Linked DNA regions of Homo sapiens: region 1 is linked to region 2. The links are contacts of gene promoters, found by promoter capture Hi-C in blood cells and fetal thymus (Javierre and others, 2016). All regions are on one chromosome and are shown on one strand. The core of a region is centred on a gene start or on the middle of the fragment in contact, and the rest is flanking DNA. Distances in the headings are between cores, read along the strand shown. Region 1 overlaps NUDCD2 (NudC domain containing 2). Region 2 holds the start of FAM200C (family with sequence similarity 200 member C).

Region 1 (2,957 bases), core at 458-2,957, 3.1 Mb before region 2:
ACAGCAGCCTCAAACCCATGGGGTCAAGCAATCCACGTTGGCCTCCAAAGTCCTGGGATTACAGGCCTGAGCTACTGGGCCTGGTGCAGTCTCTTTTAAATTTATATTTTGTTTATTTTTTTAAAAAACATGAGTTTGTGAACAGTTAGTCACAACTAATCTATCAAATCTGGAATACGTAAAGTTTTTTTAATGCCGATTGCCCAACAAAAAGATTAAAACGTTTTTAAAAGTTTACTTTAAAAACAACATTTTGCCGGGTGCGGTAGCTCATGCCTGTAATCCTGGCACTTTGGAAGGCCTAGGCGGGCGGATCACAAGGTCAGGAGTTCGAGACCAGCCTGGCTAACACGGGGAAACCCCATCTCTACTAAAAATACAAAAATTAGCCGGGCGTGGTGGCGGGCGCCTGTAGTCCTAGCTACTTGGGAGGTTGAGGCAGGAGAATCGCTTGAACCCTGGAGGTGGAGGTTGCAGTGAGCCAGATCGTGCCACTGCAGCCTGGGCGACAGAGCGAAACTCTGTCTCAAAAAAAAAAAAAAAAAAAAAAAAAAAGACAACATTTTTTAGTTTTAGCAGGAGATCCCTTCTTGTGGTTAATTTAAATTGGTAGAATTAAAGCATTTCAGATATTAATTTCACATTTGGCCAGTGGTCAGTATTACTGTATCTTCTAAAAATTAAGGAGCCCTGATCTTTCTTTAGAGAGCTCTGTGTTCTTTGCCATAGTAAATATCCCTTGCAGTGTAAACTAGTTTCCATTTTACCTGCTGGGAGAAAATTTAGGGTTGTGCACCTATAAATGTCATGGTGAAGTGGTGGTATAAGATGTGGATTAGGTAGGAAAGTAGGTAAATCTTAATCATGAAAACTTTATAAAAATTAAATTCTGTATTTTTAGCACCTTATATGTTTATTTTTCAGGGCAAACTCTTTGATTCTACAATAGCTGATGAGGGAACATGGACTTTGGGTAAGGGTAATTACTATAATTCATCAAATTAAAATAATTTTGTCTTGATATCTTTTCCTCTTTTGTATTAGGTCTTTTTTGTCTTTGCAGCTTTGAAAGATAAAGCAATAGAAATGTGTTGAAAACCGTTGTATGTCAAAGTTACCTAGTGGGGGGAGAAAAAATTAGTTAGTTGTTTTTGGAAATATAAAATTTAATGAAGAACTTCTTGAGACCACCCTGGCCAACATGGCAAAACCCCGTTTATACTAAAAATACAAAAGTTAGCCGGGCATGGTGGCGCATGCCTGTATTCCCAGCTAGTCGGGAGGCTGAGGCAGGAGAATCACTTGAACCCGGGGGGCGGAGGTTTCAGTGAGCCGAGATCAAGCCGCTGCACTCCAGCCTGGGTGAGAGTGATACTGTCTCAAAAAAAAAAAAAACAACTTGATGAAGAACTCTAATTTATTTGTGCGTGTGTGTGTGTGTGTTTTTTTTTTAGAGGACAGAAAAATGGTTCGTATTGTTCTTACAAAGACAAAGAGAGATGCAGCAAATTGTTGGACTTCTCTACTAGAATCTGAATATGCAGCGGATCCTTGGGTGCAAGACCAAATGCAGAGAAAGCTTACATTAGAGAGATTCCAAAAAGAAGTAAGTCAGATGAAGTGTATGAGTATGTGTAATTAAATATATAAAAATCATCAAATAAATATTTGAAATTAAAACTCAAATGTCATTATGAAAAGTTACAAACATTTTCTAGAAGAATTTTTAAAGTGAATTGTTAGAAAAATGGCCTTTCTTGTATGGATTTGATTTTTCGGAAGATTTTCTTGAGAGGAATTTATTTGTATTGCTGTGATTTGTGAGTTTAAGCTTACTTTTATGTACATCAGTAATGCATGAATAAACTCTTACTATAGTTGAATCAATATAGACTTACCTAGTGTAAAAAGTGAAAGGCCCCTTCACCACCATTCTCCCCATTCCATGCATCTATCTCATTTTCATCTCATATGTTGGCTATTGCTTGTTTTGTTTTGTTTTTTAGCATAAATGGAGGATCACACTGTGTGTATTGTTCTTCTTGTTGCTTTTTTATTTAATAATATGCTGTGGGTCTCTTTCCCTACTAATACATAGGTATAAAACTCATTCTTTTTAACTGCTTCAGAGGATTCTGTAGTTTGGATGTGTCATCATTATTTGGCTGTTTGCCTTTGATATGATTTAGATTTCTTCATTTTTCTCTATTTTAAAGAAAGCTGTGCTTTCATCTCTGTGAAACTACTCAAGTGTTCTAAGATATCTTTAAGATAAATATCTAGGAGAGGAATTGCTAGATTGCAGCACTTGATAATGTACGTCTTTATGATAATGATTTCCAGATGTATATCTCTAGCCTAGACTTTTTTTCTGAATTTAGGACCTGCATACCCGGTTGCCTATTCAACATCTCCACCTGGCTATCTAATGTATATTAAGCTCAACATGTCCAAGTTGAACACCCTAACATCCTTCCATATTTGTTTTTACCTGTAGCCTTTTCATCTCAGTTGATGAAAACTAGTAGTTCAGGTCAAAAAAAATTGGGACTCATCTTTGATTCTTACATCTTTCTCATACCCTATCCAATGTATTAGGAAATCTTACTGATGCTACCTTCGAAATATATTTAGAATTTGGCCACTTTTCACCACCAACTCTACCACCATTCTGATCTGGACCACCTCTAATGTCTTGCCTGATTACTCTAATAACGTTCTAATTGGTCTTCTCACTTTTACTCTTGCCATAGTCTTCTCAAAATAGCAGTTAGAGCAGTTCTTTTTTTTTTTTTTTTTCTGAGATGGAGTGGTGCGATCTCTGCTGACTGCAAGCTCCGCCTCCCGGATTCCCGCCAGTCTCCTGCCTCAGCCTCCCGAGTAGCTGGGACTGTAGGCTCCCGCCACCACGCACGGCTAATTTTTTTGTATTTTTAGTAGAGGTGGGGTTTCACCGT
Region 2 (3,593 bases), core at 489-2,988:
CAAATAGATTTAATTCCTATTTACTTTAAGAATGAAAAACAATGTTCATTTTCCTACCTAAACAGGGTGGTTCAACATAAAGGCTGATGTTGTGTCCGTTTTGTATTTTATCTTTTGTTAAAGATACATAAATGACAATACTTAACTGTGAGTGGTTTGTAGCATTATTTCTAATATTTGGCAGAAAAGTTGTTTATGGGACAGGGAGGGGAACCTGGATTAGCTTCTGTGAGTTTAAGAAAATTTCAGCATCTTGTCACCTAACCTTTCTGGACCTCTTTCCCTCTTCTATGAGGCCTGGTTTACTTAGATTTAGGAAGAATTCTGTAATATCCAGAATCATGTCTTCTGTTTTATTTTGGAAAAGTAATGCCTAGCCAGCCTGGCCAACATAGCAGAGCCCTGTCTCTATGAAAAATACGAAAATTAGCTGGGCATGGTGGCACACGCCTATAATCCCAGCTACTCAGGAGGCTGAGGCATGAGAATTGCTTGAACCCGGTTCAAGAAGTTACAGTGAGCTGAGATTGCGCCACTGCTCTCCAGCCTGGGCAACAGAATGAGACCCTGTCTCAAAAAAAAAAAAAAAAAAAAAAGAAAAAAACATAATGCCTAGGACATTACTCAGATTGAGCTTTGATTTTATTATCTCAATAATAGCTGCCTTTTGAGTGCGAGAATTATGTACTGTAATTGTCATAATGTTATCTCCTTCCTCAAAAGAATTTCATGGGGTAATGGATGATATGTAAGTTTTACAAAAAGCACATGGAATTAACTCCAAGTAACCTGCACAAATCCTAACCGTTGGAGTCAGGACATGAAGCTAGCTGTGGGATTCTGAAGCCTACCCCTTTCTCTAGTATTGAAGGCCCTAATTTCTTGACCAACAAGGCTGGTCTTTAGCAGTTTCTTCCATCCACAAAAAACTTCAGCAGCCCGTCAATATTTACCAGGCTCACCCTTAACACCTGAAAATGATGTATCTGGCCCACATTCGTTGACGCCCCACCACTCCTCACACACACTAGTCTTATGGAATGCTTCTAACAAGATTGTACAAAAATGAGTAAACTCATTAAGTTTATAAGAATTCTGGAAAGACCCCCAAACAGGAAAGGGCTATATTCCGGTTTCTTTCAACAACGTTTCCTAGTTTCTACTTGGGATTTTTCTCTAAAACCTCTCTAATATGGGTTTATTTCTTTGAAATCATGTTGTTGAAAGAATTTAAAATAAAAATATTTCAGATATATGATGATGACATGGAAATTCATCCCTATGCTCCCACTTACGGAAAGTGGGATCAGCTTGCATAGGCAACAGTACACAAGCTATGGAAGCTCATCCTCCACTGCTGAAATGTCTAATCTGAAATTACAATGAGCTTCCTTCTCTTTTTCTCTCATTTATTCCACATGGAACATGGCAATTATCAGGCGTTTTATCTCCAAGCTCAAAGCCCGACACAATATAAAAGTTTAAGTGCTCTGCATGTTAAAAAGAACTATGTGGAGTTTACAGCCCCTTCCATTCCTGAAATTGTACAGTTCATCCTCTCTGGCAGACACAATAAACAAACGATTTCTTGTTCCACGTACACAATCTTAAAAAAAAAATTGGGAAGGGCTAGCGCGCATGCTCAATACTCAAGCCAGCCAGCCCATCCCACAGCCCTTTGCTACTGCGCCTGCGTGTGGGAGACGCCTCTCCCAGTTTGCGGGCGGGAAGCACCCTGGAGAACCCGGATGGAACCCGGGCCTGGCTGAGGCGGAGGTTGTTGCGGATGCTTCTCTCTCCAGGCGCACCGCAGATTCCTGCCCGGGGGTTGGACCCGAGGAACCGCCGTCTCTACTGGTTCCGACGGCCAGAGGCTGGGCCCTAGGCTGAGCGGAGAGTGGGACTGGAGCCTGAAACGGGCGCCTAAAAGAAGCCCGTGCATCCCATAGGCCTGCGCCTCAGGCTTGGAGACGGGCGGGCGGAGACCGCGCTGAGTCTTTTTTTTTTTTTTCCTAGCAGCTGGCGTTCTTATCTCACCCGGGAGGCTGTAAAAATCTCCGTCCTTAACAGTAACACCATCAGGTCCTATCAGTTAAGAGCTGCTTGTTATTTGCATGCATTCTTATAATTAAATCTCCTAACAACCCTGTAAGGTAGGTACTGTTATCCCCTCTGGAGGAACTGAGGCTTGGAAAGGTCCCATCCTGTAAGTGACAAAGCCACGATCCCAGGCGTTTGCCCCTGGAGCGTCTGCCCAGCCACCAAGTTCCTGCCCCCATTCTCCTGGCTATTGATTTTAACTGTAAAATGTAATGGTTAAATGCTCTGCCTCCCCAGACACCTGCGCCTATCATGATCTTGCATACGCAGTGGCTAGAAAGAAGTTGAATTGTATTTGGTTTGGAGTTTTAGGTTTACAGCTGCACTTTGGTGTTTTCACTGCTGGAATATATATATATTAGCATTCCCTAAATATTTGTTTTGTGAGTGTTCACTTTTAACTGATTTTTCTCATTTGTAATACTTTTTCATATCTACCCTTCATAAACTTGCAAAAACATTTTACTTTGTTATATCAGATCTTTCATTAAGCATCTGAAGATAATCTCTCAAAAGAATCATGCTTAAAATGAGTGATATCTATCTTAAGATAATGCTTTTTATCTTTTTATTATGGAAAGTTTCCAAAATACATTAAAATAGAACGGTGTAATGATGTATACCCATCATCCAGCTTCAAGAGTTACCAACTTAAGGCCAGTCATTTCTTTTATCTCCACCCCGCTTTGTGCATGTTTGTGAGTGTGCTGAAGTACGTATTTCAAAGGAATCCCAGACATCTTATTTCACTTGTAAATAATTGTCTGTATCTAACAAATGAGGACTTTTTAAAAACACAACCACAATACCATTATCATGCCTGTTTAACAATATCTCCTTATCATGATGCTTTTTAATGTTTACGTTTTTTAGGATATTGTAATTCCTAAATACCACAAAAGCGCAAGTGCAAATTGTGAGGTTCTAAAACACAAGCCTCTTGGGCAGTAAGTTCATCTTTGAGGCCCTTGAAAATTCTTGCCACCTGTTCTCCCTTTTTGAGGGTTATGGAGAAGAATACTTTAAATTGATTTTCCTAAAACTGTTCAAAACAGATAAATTTTAAATTAAAATATACTTGAGAGACATAGTCAAGGTGGATAGGAATGGACTCTTAACAGATCTTGTAATGATTTCCAGTTTGTTTTGTTTTTGAGACAGAGTCTCACTCCGTCACCCAGTCTGGAGAGCGCAGTGGCATCATCTCGGCTCACTGCAACCTCTGCCTCCCAGATCAAGCGATTCTCCTGCATCAGCCTCTCCAGTAGCTGGGATCACCATGCACAGCTAATTTTTGTATTTTTAGTAGAGACGAGGTTTCGCCAAGTTGGCAGGGCCAGTCTCAAACTCCTGACCTCAGGTGATCCGCCTTCCTCGGCCTCCCAAAGTGCTGGGATTATGGACATGAGCCACCGTACCCAGCCTTTTTTTGAGACAGAGTCTGGCTGTGTCACCCAGGCTGGAGTGCAGTGGCGTGATCTCAGCTCACTGCA

The links. Contacts are between HindIII fragments. The CHiCAGO score rates a contact against its expected background, and 5 or more counts as called.
Region 1: a fragment that was not itself captured here is called in contact with the fragment with the promoter of FAM200C in region 2 in 12 of 17 cell types (activated CD4 T cells, total CD4 T cells, M0 macrophages and 9 more); the score reaches 12.1 in activated CD4 T cells.

Annotation. Positions count from the first base shown.
Region 1 is chr5:163,455,578-163,458,534 of GRCh38, reverse strand. It overlaps NUDCD2 (NudC domain containing 2), which reads left to right. Exons shown (of 4, transcript NM_145266.6): 2 at 925-973; 3 at 1,455-1,606. It also overlaps a transcript of CCNG1 not described here. Among named protein-coding and RNA genes, the nearest start is that of NUDCD2, 3.0 kb to the left of the region's middle. The HindIII fragment of the contact is 252 bases long and covers 1,582-1,833 here.
Region 2 is chr5:160,398,199-160,401,791 of GRCh38, reverse strand. FAM200C (family with sequence similarity 200 member C) reads left to right here and starts at 1,738. Exons shown (of 2, transcript NM_022090.5): 1 at 1,738-2,153. SLU7 (spliceosome associated SLU7) reads left to right here. Exons shown (of 16, transcript NM_006425.5): 16 at 1-151. RefSeq lists enhancers at 2,049-2,198, 2,092-2,777, 3,097-3,593. The HindIII fragment of the contact is 7,568 bases long and covers 1-3,593 here.